Regions from separate parts of the Homo sapiens genome. Here region 2 is linked to region 1. The links are contacts of gene promoters, found by promoter capture Hi-C in blood cells and fetal thymus (Javierre and others, 2016). All regions are on one chromosome and are shown on one strand. Each heading gives the region's core, a stretch centred on a gene start or on the middle of the fragment in contact. The rest is flanking DNA. Distances are from core to core; before and after follow the strand shown. Region 1 holds the start of IFIT3 (interferon induced protein with tetratricopeptide repeats 3). Region 2 has its middle 24 kb from the start of MIR107.

The links. The method cuts DNA at HindIII sites, captures the fragments that hold promoters and counts their contacts. A CHiCAGO score of 5 or more calls a contact.
Region 2: a fragment that was not itself captured here is called in contact with the fragment with the promoter of IFIT3 in region 1 in 5 of 17 cell types (total CD8 T cells, non-activated CD4 T cells, total CD4 T cells and 2 more); the score reaches 7.8 in total CD8 T cells.

Annotation. Positions count from the first base shown.
Region 1 is chr10:89,323,314-89,330,873 of GRCh38, forward strand. It overlaps IFIT3 (interferon induced protein with tetratricopeptide repeats 3), which reads left to right and starts at 4,684. Exons shown (of 2, transcript NM_001549.6): 1 at 4,684-4,765. The coding sequence starts at 4,761. It also overlaps a transcript of LIPA not described here. RefSeq lists enhancers at 4,452-4,691, 6,913-6,972 and a silencer at 5,012-5,061. The HindIII fragment of the contact is 8,842 bases long and covers 1-5,385 here.
Region 2 is chr10:89,565,045-89,572,604 of GRCh38, forward strand. No RefSeq gene overlaps it. Among named protein-coding and RNA genes, the nearest start is that of MIR107, 24 kb to the right of the region's middle. The HindIII fragment of the contact is 177 bases long and covers 3,175-3,351 here.

The DNA of each region.
Region 1 (7,560 bases), core at 3,434-5,933:
ATAAACCCAAGGTCAACATCATACTGAATGGGCGAAAGCTGAAAGATTTCCCCTTGAGAACTGGAAAAATACAGGGATGCCCACTCTTAGCACTCCTATTCAACAGAGTACTGCTAGCATGAGCAAGCAGGCAAGAGAATGAAATAAAAGGCACCTAGATAGGAAGAGAGGAAGTCAAACTATCTATCTTTGCAGACAATTTGATTGCATACCTAGAAAACCCCCACGTCTCTACCCAAAAGCTCGTAGGTCTAATAAACAGCTTCAGCAAAGTTCCAGGATACAAAATCAACATACAAAAATGAGTAGCATTCCTATACACTAACAAAATCCAAGCCGAGAGCCAAATCAGGAAGACAATCCCATTCACAATAGCCACAAAAAGAATAAAATACCTAGAAATACAGCTAACGCAGGAGGTGAAAGATCTCTACAATGAGAATTACAAAACATTGTTCAAAGAAATCAGAGATGACACAAACAAATGGAAATGCTCATGGATAGGAAGAATCGATATTGCTAAAATGGCCATACTACCCAAAGCAATTTACAAATTCAATGCTATTCCTAACAAGCTACCAATGACAGTCTTCATAGAATTAGAAAAACCTATTTTAAAATTCCTATAGAACAAAAAGTGCTCAAATACCCAAAGCAATCCTAAGCAAAAAGAACAAAGCTGGAGGCATCATGTTACCTGACTTTGAACTATACTATAAGGCTACAGTAACCAAAATAGCATGGTACTGGTACAAAAACAGACACATAGACCAATAGAACAGAATAGAGAGCCCATGTTACCTGACTTTGAACTATACTACAAGGCTATAGTAACCAAAATGCATGGTACTGGTACAAAAACAGACACATAGACCAATGGAACAGAATAGAGAGCCCAAACTTAAGGGCACACACCTACAGCCATCTGATCTTCAACAAAGCTGACAAGAACAAGCAATGGGGAAATGATTCCCTGTTCAATAAAGGGTGCTGGGATAACTGGCTAGCCATATATAGAAGACTGAAATTGGACCCCTTCCTTACATCATATATGGAAATCAACTCAAGATGGATGAAATGTAAAACCTAAAAATATTAAAACCCTGGAAGATAACCTAGGAAATACGATTCTCAACATAGAAACCAGCAAAGATTTCATGATGAAGACACCAAAAGCAACTACGACAAAACCAAAAATTGACAAACGGGACCTAATTAAACTAAAGAGCTTCTGATAGCAAAAGAAACTATCAACAGAGTAAACAAGCAACTGACAGATGGGAGAAAATATCTGCAAACTATGCATAACCAAAGGTCTAATATTGAGAATCTATAAGAAACTTAAGCAAATTAACAAGCAAAAAAGCAAACAGCTCCATTAAAAAGTGGGCAAAGGACATGAACAGACACTTTTTAAAAGAAGACATGCATGCGGCCAATAAGAATATGAAAAAATATGTGGTGTTTGGTTTTCTGTCCTTTGTGATATTTTGCTGAAAATGATGGTTTCCAGCTTCATCCATGTCCCTGCAAAGGACACAACTCATCCTTTTTTATGGATGCATTGTATTCCATGGTGCATATGTGCCACATTTTCTTTACCCAGTCTATTGGGTTGGTTCCAAGTCTTTGCTATTGCAAATAGTGCCGCAATAAACATATGAACCAACATGGCACATGTATACCTATGTAACAAACCTGCACATTGTGCACATGTACCCAAGAAATTAAAGTATAATAATAAAAAAAGAAAATAAATTTCTTCCTTCAGATACCCTAAAAAAAAGAATATGAAAAAATACTCAATATCATTAATCATTAGAAAAATGCAAATCAAAACCACAATGAGATATCATGTCATACCAGTCAGAATGACTATTATTAAAAAGTCAACAAAAATAACAGATGCTGGTGAGGTTACAGAGAAAAGGGAACACTTACAAACTGCTGGTGAGAATGTAAATTAGTTCAGTCACTATGGAAAGCAATGTGGTAATTTCTCAAAGAACTTAAAATAGAAGTACCATTCAACCCAGCAATCCTATTATTGGGTACATACCCAAAGGAATATAAATCATTCTGCCATAAAGACACATGTTCAAGTATGTTCATCATAGCACTATTCACAATAGCAAAGACATGGACTCAACCTAAATGCCCATCAACAGAAGACAGGATAAGGGAAATGTGGTACATATACACCATGGACTACTATGCAGCCACAAAAAAAAGAATATCATGTCCTTTGCAGTAATGTGAATGGAACTGGAGGCCATTATCCTAAGTAAACTAATGCAGGAAGAGAAAACCAAATACTGCATGTTCTCACTTATAAGTGGGAACTGAACATTATGGACACAAAGAGGGGAACAACAGACACTGGGGCCTACTTGAGGGTAAAGAATGGGTGAAGAGAGAGGACTGAAAAACTACCTATCATGTACTATGCTTATGAGTGGGGTGACTAAATAATCTGTACACTAAAGCCTCATGACATGCAATTTACCTAAATAACAAACCTGTACGTGTATACCTGCACATAAAATATAAGTTAAAAAAAAACCTACAATGAGATATGATCTTACCCTGGTTAAAATTGCTTTTATCCAAAAGACAGGCAATAACAAATGCTGGCAAGGATGTGGAAAAAAGGAAACTCTTGTACACTGTTGGTGGGAATGTAAACTATTATAACTACTATGGATAACAGTTCGGAGGTTCCTCAAAAGACTAAAAATAGAACTACCATATGATCCAGTAATCCCACTGCCAGGAATACATCAAAAAGAAAGGAAATCAGTACATCAAAGAGATATCTGCACTCCCATGTTTATTGCAGCACTATTCACAATAGCCAAGATTTGGAAGCAACCTAAGTGTCCATCAGCAGAAGAATGGATACAGAAAATGTGGTACATTTACACAACGGAGTGCTCTTTAGCCATAAAAAGAATGAGATCCTGTCATTTGCAACAACATGGATAGAAGTGGAGGTCATTATAAGTGAATTAAGCCAGGCACAGAAAGACAAATTTTACATATTCTCACTTGTTTGTGGAAGCTAAAAATATTAAGACAATTGAACTTATGGAGATAGAGATTAGAATGATGATTACTAGAGGCTGGGAAGAGTAGTAGCGGGGGAAGTGGGGATGGTTAATGGGTACAAAAATATACTTAGATAGAATTAATAAGATCTAGTGTTTGTTAGAACAAGAGGATGACTATAGTCAACAATAGTTTATTGCACATTTCAAAATAACTAAAAGAGTATAATTGGATTGTTTGTAATACAAAGAATAAATGCTTGAAGTCATTTACCCTGATGTGATTATTACTCATTGTATGCTCGCATCAAATATCTCATGTACCCCATAAATATATATATCTACTATGTGTCCACAAAAAATTTTTAAAAATAATAAGAATTGGCTTAAAAAATGCTGTTTCCTGGGCCCCACCCTAGACTGATGGTCAGATACCTAATGTTGACAAAAAAAGTCAAACTCTGTAAAACATTTGAAGAGATTTATTCTAAGCCAAATATGAATGACCTATGGCCTGTGACACAGCCCTCAGGAGATCCTGAGAACATGTGCCAGGCCACAACTTGGTTTTATACATTTTAGGGAGACATAAGGCATCAATCAATACATGTAAGGTGTACATTGGCTAGGTCCAGAAAGGTGGGACAATTGGAAACAGGGAAGCGGGGCAGCTTCCAAGTCATAGGCAGATTCAAAGATTTTCTGATTGACAATTTGTTGAAAGAGTTATTATCAATAGAAAGGAATGTTTGGAGACATCCAATAGAAATTCAATAGACAATCATTAGAAAGGAATGTCTGGGTCGTGGAGACCAAGGTTTTATTATGCAGATGAAGCCTCCAAGTAGCAGGCTTCAGAGAGAATAGGTTGTAAATGTTTCTTAATACACTTAAAAAGAGCATGTTCTGGCTGGGTGCAGTGGCTCATGCCTGTAATCCCAGCACTTTGGGAGGCCAAGGTGGTTGGATCACCTGCTATCAGGAGTTCAAGACCAGCCTGACCAACATGGCGAAACCTCGTCTCTACTAAAAATACAAATATTAGCCGGGCATGGTGGTGGGTGCCTGTAATCCCAGCTACTCGGGAGGCTGAGGCAAGAGAATCACTTGAACCCAGGAGGCAGAGGTTGCAGTGAGACGCAATCATGCCACTGCATTCCAGCCTGGGCAACAGAGTAAGACTCTGTCTCAAAAAAAAACAAAAACAAAAACAAAAAAAGAGTGTGTTCTATTAGTAATTCCAAAAGGAAAAAGGATGTAATGAGGCATATCCAGCTTCCCCTTCACATCAGTTTTCAGGTTAACTTTGGAATGCCCTTGGCCAAAAGCAGGGGTCCAGTCACATGGTTGGTGAGTATGGCCTTAGAATTTAATTTTTTGGTTTACATTAGGAATGCTTCCACATTCTCTCAAACAAATTTTAGTCACAGTTTTGAATAACGTACTCTGGCTCAGCCATTGCAGGTCTCAAGCCGTTAGGTTTCATTTTCCTCCTCCCAACGATTTTAAATTAGTTTCACTTTCCAGTTTCCTCTTCCTTCCCCTAAAAGCAATTACTCAAAAACGGAGAAAACATCAGCTGATGCGTGCCCTACTCTCCCACCCCTTTATATAGTTCCTTCAGTATTTACTTGAGGCAGACAGGAAGACTTCTGAAGAACAAATCAGCCTGGTCACCAGCTTTTCGGAACAGCAGAGACACAGAGGGCAGTCATGAGGTCAGTGAAATAAGAATGCATAATCATGCTTGTTTTTGAGTGCAAATTGTAAGTTGAGTTTCTTACTGTGCAGGCACATTCCTGAATTGTCCTGATGTTTATAGATTCAATATGTCTTTATCAGTCTGAGCATTTGTAAGATGTTTGAGGGGTTTTTCCCTGTGGCTTTTTTTGGTGTACACACAGGCTTCTTAAGTTTCTGGAATGGTTCCCTACGGAACTACATGGGGGGAGGCAGGGTGGGGAATGCATCAGCTCATGTTTCCTCCCTGTGTGCAGCTATTTCCTGCAATGAGAGGAAGGCTTGGCAGGAGCGGTGTATTTCACTCAGCCACAAACTTGGCTGATTCAAGGGTAGACCTAAGGGAATTACTCTTTTGGGTTTTTCTGTTATTGTCATTTTGTTTGAAAAGATTAAGTCACAGGCTTTTTTTCTTGTAATTTTAAAAGGAGGAATTTATTTTCAACAGATATTGTGAAAGATACAATCAGTACTGCAAACCCACTCATGAAGAAGGCAATTTTGCCCTGAAACGTTGCATTACTTTAAGGTGGGAAGTGGAAGAAACAATTCTTACAAATGGGCATTTTTGTCATTTCTTATATAAAAACAAACCCAAAGCTTAGCATTTATTTTTATTGATGTAGTGAATGCTGGTCAGCAGCAAAAAAAGAATTTCTCCTCAAAAGTGTAATGACCTAATCTATTATCTAAAACTAGTCTAATCTCTAATGGTGGGAAGCAGATCAGTGGTTGCCTGGAGATGGTGGGGATTGAGTAGGAAGGCTCCCAAAAGAATCTTTTTAGAATCATAGGAATAGTCTATAGGGAGGTAGTGATGGTGGCTACATATGCATAAACATTTACCAAAACTCATCAGACTATACACTGAAAATGGGTGCATCTTATTGTATATAAAGCATAATCTCAGTAAACTTGATTTTTAAATTTATATATTGACCTCCTGGAGTTCTTCAGGGGATAGCATGTTAGGGAGAACTAAGAGAAAAGGATGCCTTTCCCACCAAGCATCTCTAGGAAAGGAGTGAGGAGGTGATTGCCAGGGAGGGAAGACCCCATCGACCATTCAGGGGGGCAGAAAAGGAAAACTGGATTCCCTACCTTACTCTGCCCCAAGGACTTGAAGATGCTCTGCAATGTCATGTTTGGGGATGAGATGGGTAAGAGGAATTCACTGCCAAATACCTCAGTATATAGAATACCCTTTTATATAGAATAAGTTCCTGGTCAAGAGTGATGTTAATTGTGTCTGTGTGAGTGGGATTGACCAGAGAGCAAGGCGTCTTAGTAGCCAGCTTGCAGGAAAGGTTTTACAGGGTCCTGTCTTTAGGTGTGTCTATAGCCACTGACCTGAGGAGGTCTGAGGGGGGCTCTCTGAACTATGCTGGACTCAGGTTCACATCAAGGTGCTCCTATTTCCAGAGGCTATAGGAACAGGAAGAGATTGGGCTGCTCCTCCCCAGTTGTGCTAAAAATTTCCAAATGGGAAAATCACCTGGAGAACTCACTGGCACGTGCCAGCTGATGGGCATCCTCCTCTGCCCCATCCACTGAGGAACTCTGTTGCTCCCTTTACACACTCACAAATTCACTTAAAATTATAACACAAATATATTAGTACCAGCAATCATGGTGGTAACATTTCTTTGTGATCTGTAGTTAGTGGTTTCATGCAAGTCCGTGTGAAGAGACCACCAAACAGGCTTTGTGTGAGCAACAAGGCTGTTTATTTCACCTGGGTGCAGGTGGGCTGAGTCCGAAAAGAAAGTCAGGGAAGGGAGATAGGGGTGGGGCCATTTTATAAGATTTGGGTAGGTAAAGGAAAATTACTGTCAAAGGGGGGTTGTTCTCTGGTGGGCAGGTGTGGGGGTCACAAGGTGCTCAGTAGGGGAGCTTTTGAGCCAGGATGAGCCAGGAGAAGGAATTTCACAAGATAATGTCATCGGTTAAGGCAGGAACAGGCCATTTTCACTTCTTTTGTGGTGGAATGTCATCAGTTAAGGCAGGAACTGGCCATCTGGATGTGTACATGCAGGTCACAGGATATGATGGCTTAGCTTGGGCTCAGAGGCCTGACAAGTGGGCACTGTGTTAAACACGTTTTACGCATGACCTCATATCACCCTTCCAACAGCCCTAGGAAGTAAGAGCTATTATTTCTATTATTAGCCTCATTTTCTAGATGACCAAAATGGGGCTTAGAAGGGCAAATTACTTGCCCAAGACATCAGATAGAGAGCAGGTGTCAGAGCAGAGTCATTAATGGAGGCACCAAACTCTACTGCTGATCATCTGACTCTATGCCCAATGGCCAAAAGGTGAAAGATCTTAATGCTTTCAACTATGCTCACTTTAGAGAGGGGGCCAGGGATGGGCTTCCTATCTGGAGAGTAAGGGCCAGCCTTTGATGGTTACCCATGCCTTAGAGTGGCCAAAGCCACAAGAACTGAACCCAGATCTTGGAGAAGGGTGAAAGTGGTTCTCCCCAGGGCATAATTTTCTATCATTTGGATGAAGGGAAAAGGAAATTCATCCTAGGGCATTTTAAGGATAAGGGAATGAGGCTCAGTGATATGACTCAAGAAATATCCCAGAACTAAGCAAAGAGGTCACTGAAATCCAGGTGTCCTGTGGTTTTCTTCCCTTCACTCAAGATGCCTGATAATGCTGCTTAATTCACCACATTAGCTCCATAAATAAAGGGGAAAACTGCTTTTTAAAATACCTCTATGACAGCACTTCTCAAAATGTGGTACAGGAACTCCTGCACTGA
Region 2 (7,560 bases), core at 2,013-4,512, 240 kb after region 1:
ATTGTGCAAGTCGGCGCCTAACTCCCTACTCCTTAAGTGTAAGCTGTGCGTAGTGACTTCCCTCCAAAGAACACAGTATGGAAAGAGGAGAAAAAATAGAAACTTTACTTTGGAGAAACTTGATAAATACTAACTCTGCCAGGTTGACAAGGTCAACATCATTAGTGATAAGTCAGCTTGATAGTTTGTACCCTTGACAAGTGACAAGAATGTCACTTCTGTGGTCTTCCTCCACAAAATTCATAAGTCTAACTTAATCATGAGAAAACATTAGACAAATCCCAACTGAGGGACATTCTACTAAATGCTTGCTCAGTACTTCTCAAAACTGTCAAAGTCATCAAAAACAAGAAAAGTCTGAGAAACTCTCACAGCCAAGAGGTGTCTAAGAAGACACGATAATTAAATGTACTGTGGTTTCCTGGATGAGATTTTGGAACAGAAAGAGGACATTAGGTAAAACCTACTGAAATTTGAATAAAGAATTCACTTTAGTTAATAATAATGTATTAAATTTTTCCATTAATTGCAACAAATATACCATGCTAATGTAAGATGGTCGAAGGAACTGGTGCAGCTTTTAAGGAACTCTACTATCTTCACATTTCTTTTCTAAATCTAAAACCGTTTTAAATAAACAATATTTCAAAAAATATATAAACACAAAATAAAAGCATAGATTTGTGTTAAATTCCATGCATTTAAAGAAATATAATTAACATAAAGAACACATATACCTAAGCCCATCTTAATTTCTTGGCATATAAAACCACTTTGTATTCACCTCCTAACCCTTTGTCCTCTCATAACCTTATCTTGAACTTCATATGCATTAATCCTATGTATATTATATATCCTATGTGTATTATATGTTTCCAATATGTAAGTATGTATCCATAACCATTTTATAAAGTATTACATATTTCCATGAATACCTATAACCGCAAGTGAATAGAAAAAATTTGGAAACATATTTGTTACACTGACAGCAGTGCTTACTTCAGGGAAGATGGAGAGTAGAATGAGTAAAGTGGAACTCTCCTTTGACATCTTATTACTGATATGTTTCAAGGACATTGCGTTATTTTACAACGTTTACATCGGCAAAACATAAATATAAAGAAACGTGGTTGGGTCACATCATCCTTCTGCTCCAAAAACCTTTTATAAGTTTTCTTCATCTTGCACAGTGCCCTGCAGCCAGAAACTCTCAATTAATGTTTACGCATGCCAAAATTTTATGAGCACTTACCTTAAGCATTCTTTCCTGCCCATTAATCCAGTGGTTCTTAACCCTGATTGCATATTACAATCACTTGAGGAGATTTTAAAAAACAAAAAAACAAAAAACAACAAAAAAAACATACTGACGACCTGGCTTCTCTCTCGACAAATTAATTGGAATCTCTGCAGGTAGGGTCAAGGGATCTGCATTTTCACAAGCCCCTCAAGTGGCTTCTATGCTCTTTAAAGGCCATATCACAGACCAAAAATTTAAGCAGGCTTAACTTACCACTTGACGGAAGCCATCTGGATGGTTCTTGGTCTCATTAGCAAAATAAGTATCCTGTGTTGTGAGAAAACTACTGATTGCCAAATGGAAATAACTGCTTGAAAAATTCAACAACGTTTATTTTTGTAGTAAATACAATCTTGTAGATAGAAAGCATGTGTCCAGGTAAAATATTTGTCAAGCCCTTTGAATTGTAGCAAGTGCTTAATAGGCTCTCAAGAAATATCTATTGGATGAATGGTTGAATAAATAAGTGAGCAAAAAATTTACCAGGGAACCCAAGTAAGCTAACGAAAGTCTAACTGATGGAAACATCATTTGTTCAAGATTTACTGAGTACCTACTATGTGCCAGGCCCTGTACTAAATCCTAGAGTCATTGAGTTTCCACTAAGACACACATTTTTTGGTTTTTAGTAGCTGAAATTGAGGAGAGAAATACTGGCAACATGCATATTGCCTGTAAACATTTCCCTATTCTTCTAATCTTTTTTTATGAGGAAAATGAATTGTCTTAGTATGGGAATATGCGCCAATACTGTCTCTAAAGAGTGAGAAAATAACATAAACATCCCAATGAGAGGATAGAATAGCTGAAAGAGGGTGGGAAGCTGGAAGAGAATGTCACGAAGCAGAATCCTAACATCTGACCTCCAGCCTGGGGTTAGATATTTGGCAGCTTACGCTCCCTCTCCTAAAGAGCTGTACATGTCTTTGGAGCATTAATTCTGAATTAGCATTCCAAGCTTTCTGTGTGCTTCACTAAGGACCAGGCAAAAGAGGATAAATTATATTTAAGTCCCCTCAAACTTCAAATCAGCAACATTTTAAGAAAATTCAAATAGACTACTTTTTTCATTAATATACAGTGACCGTGTGCTCCTGCCATCTATTTTAAATTACAAGTGCTACAATGGCTACATATTCTTAAAAAAATATTTGAACCAGCTGCCAAGATGAGGTTTTATTAATAGCACATTTTTTAATGCATATAGTTTTAAATTCAATATGTAACAGAAGTATGAAGATTTTCCAAAAGGCTAGAAAGCCTTTTTAAAGTAGAATGAAATGTAAAGGTCAGTTATAGGACTGTTTTGTTTCTTTACTAAAAACAGAAAACTTTCCCCTTCTTAATTATGCCAATTGACTTTTTTTAGTCAATGTGTGTTATGAATCACGATCATAACCTTGACTTGATTTAAACAGAAAAATGTGGTGTGGTCATATGATTAGAATGTTGTTTGTAATCCCACCCTTTTGTTAATTAAAATATCAACTTCCACTTTTGAGAGAAAAAATCTCGTCTTCTACCCTATCCCGTATCATTATCTTCAGGAAAGCAACAGTTATTGAAAATAAAGTAATGGGGCATGGAGGAAACAAAAAAAAGATAAATAATCACCAAACAGTGTTGACTTTCTGAAAGCAGAATATGCACCCCAAATTCTTAACAAATACCTCATTCTGTGGATCATATGAGTAACTAGCCATTAGAAGAGCCAGCTGTGACTTAAAAGAACTGAATCCTGGCTCAAGTGATGTGATTGGCTCAAATGTCAAAATCATTGAAGGATTTTTGGGTGCCCCATGTTGACTCTTTATTTAAGTATAACAAAGAAGTGTTAAGAGGTCATAATTGCAGGAAATACTATAATTAATAAAAGCTTACTTTCAATAGAGTTCTAATTATAATATGTGGCTATTATGTGGATATCCACATATTATTTGGATGGATATGGTAGAAATAGCAACCTATGAACACACGTTGCAGCTGAGTCCACAAAACAGCGATGTAGACATAGACATATGTATGTATCTTTCTGGTGAAATGATTTATAAAGCTTAAGTTTTCAAAACCTTATACTTTCAGAATATAGTGTATACAGAGCAAAACCAAAAAGTGGACTTAAAAAATTTACATTTCCACTTCATTATCACCTCATTTAGTAGGGAAAAAACACGTCTCTAGTTCTGGATAAATAAAATGACCATAGGGAGAAAAATTTTAGCAATTACATGGTATAAGTGGAAGAAGATATATTTAATAATCTTTCATATAATATGGTACAGGTCCTCCAAAGTAATATGGTTTCAGGATATAGATATATCCTGATATTCATCTAGATATTTGCGCATTTATAGAGCTTTATAAAGAAGCCTAAATATCTAGATGAATAAGTGATTTTTTAGTCATCTGGGAATTTCGACATTTCAGAACCTGAAGAATTTAAAATAACCCCTCTCCTATTTTCAATTCAATTCATGGCGAGCACTACTAATTTTAAAAAAGAAATAATGATTTTTCTATTACTTTTATTTTGAAATTTTGGAGAAATGTAAAAATATTTCTTAAGATAATGAGAGGGACTTGGATTCTCCCAACGCAGAGATAGATCTGGGGAATCAACACAAAGCTAGGCTCATGAGAGCTGTTGAATACGTACCTGTTGAATTTAGTAGGCCTTTCATTGGATGGAGATTAACAAACAAGGGTTCAGCTTAATTTCTGTCATGGAGTCCTTTATAAACATGTTTTCTACCTATTAGAACAGAGGTCCCCAACCCCTGGGCTGTGGACCAGTAACAGTCTGTGGCCTGTTAGGAACTGGGCCCCACAGCAGAAGGTGAGCAGCAGGCAAGTGGGTATTACCACCTGAGCTCTGCCTCCTGTCAGATCAGCAGTGGCATTACATTCTTATAGGAGCACAAACCCTACTGTGAACTGCACATATGAGGGATCTAGGTTGCACGCTCCTTATGGAGACTCTCTAATGCATGATGAACTGAGGTGGAACAGTTTCATCCTGAAGCAATCTTCCCCCACCATCCACCCCATCCATGGAATAATTGTCTTCCACGAAACTGGTCCCTGGTGCCAAAAAGGTTGGGGAACACTTTGAAACTGTGTTTTTTGGTCATAGATTTTTGTTGCTGTTCTTGTTGGAGATAATTTGGAGATTCCTAGATGAAAAAGAGTTACATGATTGCAAGATAACAACTGCTTGTTTCTCATAGCCCAAAATAATTATACAACAGTGCCTCTGCCATTCAGCATTCAATATAATCGTCTATTTGGAAGAAATGGTAACATTTTCTTTTCAAATTGTCCTTAAAATTTCCACTGTGGGTCAGGTGCAGTGGCTCATGCCTGTAATCCCATCATTTTGGGAGGCCAGGCCAGAAGGATTCCTTGAGGCCAGGAGTTGGAGACTGGGCAATATAGTGATATCCTCACCTCTATGAAAAATAAAAATAAAAAATTCAGCCAGGTATGATGGTGTGTGTCTGAGTCCCTGCGACTTAGGAGGCTGAAGCAGGAGGATTGCTTGAGCCCAGGAGTTTGAGGCTGCAGTAAGATGTGATTACACTACTGGACTCCATCTAGCCTGGGCAACAGGGTGAGATTTATCTCTTAAAAAAAAAAGTCTACTGTCGTTGCTGGGCACTTCAAAAATTCAGCCCGTAGTGTGTGCTTGTAGTCCCAGCTACTTGGGAGGCTGAAGTAGGAGGATTGCTTGAGCCCCAGGAGTTCAAAGCCAGTCTGGGCAACATAGCAAGATCTTATCTCTAGAAAAAAAATTTAATGCAAAATGTTTATTTCAGCAACCGGAGATAATAGCAGCAGTAAATTTAGGCTGATGTTATGAAGATGTCCTGTGTCACTTCTATACTTGGAAGGAGAAAAGTGGCTCACCTGAAATGAACTCCAGACAATCTCAGAGAAACTGCCCCGTTACGAGATTCTTTCTCTCCTGCAAACTAAACTCAGCATATTGCCTTCCTCATGCCAAAGAAAGTACAGAATATTAGAAAAATGTGGGAGTAGAACAGAAACTGAAAACTAGACTACAAAAGCGTGCTGGCAAAATCAGTTTCAACATAATGTGAGGGACACATTTGCCTCTATTGTCTTAAGGGGCTTTAGTTATCATGCTGCACACATAGTTGAATGACACCTATGAGGTGCAATCATTTTGAACCTAGAGACAGCAGTTGGAGTGGTTTAGTCAGTAGTTGATCAGCGCATAGTGCTGGTTTCTGCCAATTGGGCATGGCCTGCCAAAGAATCAGGAGGGGTTATTTTAAGTGTGTATATACTTTTTAACGCTGGTAGTGATATATCCTTTAAGATAGGCATGGGTCTTCACAATAGACTCAAGTATTTCTACCTAGACAAATTGTAACTGTTTAAGGATTATGTAGGGAGGTTTATTTAAAAATGCTTTTGGGGCCCCACTATAAGAGATGGATTCAGTGAGTCAGGGGAAATGCTCCCAAAGAGGCATTTTAAACAAACTCTCCAGGTTATTCTAAGGCAGGTGGGCCTAAGCTACACTTTAAGACATTCTGTATTAGAAGCATCTCCCTGAATAAACGCCACTTGAATCTGAGACGCTAGGGTTAAGCAATCATGTTGGGCTAAATTATTAAGAACATAGGATTCTATTTAAAAAGGAAAGCTATCTTTACTTACACCATTTCCAGGGATTAAAAAAATTGAGCAGGAATAAAAACAACCCAACTTTTCTTAAAACAACCTTTAAGGATGGCAATGAATTTAGGAGACAAGTTTCTCATAATATAAGTTATAATGAGGCCAAATTGATAGGTTATTTAAAATATTAATTAGTTCTTGAAAGCAGGTTTACGTTCTGAAACCAAAAATTGTATTACCCTTACATTTTTTTATTTTTTTAGATGGAGTCTCACTCTGTCACCCAGGCTGGAGTGTGCAGTGTGCATTGTGCCATGGCACAATCTTGGCTCACTTCAACCTCCACCTCCCGGGTTCAGGTGATTCTCCTGCCTCAGCCTCCCGAGCGCTGGGATTACAGATGCACACCACCACACCCGGCTAACTTTTGTATTTTTAGTAGAGATGGGGTTTCACCCTGTTGGCCACTCCTGACCTCAGGTGATCTGCCCACCTCAGCCTCCCAAACTGGTGGGATTACAGGCCTGAGCCACTGTGCTTGGCCTACCCTTAAAAATTTTTATTCTGACAAGAAATACTTACTAAAAGCCAAATACCATAATTTCTATATATCCTTCTCTTAACATGTAATAATTGAAAAATAAGAAAAAAGTCACACCGAAATGAACTGGTTTAATGAGAGATACTAATATTCAAAAGTATAATTAGAGCTAAGAAATTCAAGTTATTAAATAAAACAGAAAATATTTATTTCAAATTATAATAGAGAACATTTATATAGAAATCAATAATAATTCTATTTTTCAAAGATAATTTTGGAGGCTGAGACAACAGGATCCCCTAAGACCAGCCTGGGCAATATAATGAGTCCCTGTCTCTAAAAAAATAAAAACAATTAGCCAGGCATGGTGGTATGCACCTGTAGGCCCAGCTACCCAGGAGGCTGAAGTGGGAGGATCACTTGAGCCCAGGCATTCTAGGCTGCAGTGAGCTATGATTGTACCTCTACACTCCAGCCCATCTCTAAAAACAATAACAATAATAATTTTGGCATGAGTCTTCATAATAGACTCAAGTGCTTCTTCCTAGACAAGATAGAATATATATCATTTTATCCACACAGAAGTTTAGCAATAAGGTTTTGTTTGTTGTATAAGTACTCCCATATGTACAAGTCTAGCATCAATGTTTGCATAGAGGTAAAGTGTAGTGGAAGTATGATGAAGAAAAAAAAAAGAAATGGGCAAGTGGAAGAATTTTCTTTTATTTTGTTTTGTTTTTTTGAGGTGGAGTCTTATGCTGTCATCCAGGCTGGAGTGCAGTGCCACAATCTCGGCTCACTGCAACCTCTGCCTTCCAGGTTCAAGTGATTCTCCTGCCTCAGCCTCCTGAGTAGCTGGGATTACAGGTGTGAGCCACCACACCTGGCTAAATGTTTGTATTTCTAGTAAAGACGAGGTTTCACCCATATTGGCCAGGCTGGTCTTGAACTCTTGACCTCAGGTGATCCACCCGTATCGGCCTCCCAAAGTGCTGGGAATATAGGCGTGAGCCACCACACCTGGCCAAAGAATATTAACTAACTGAATAGCAGTAGGAGGAAGGCACTTGAG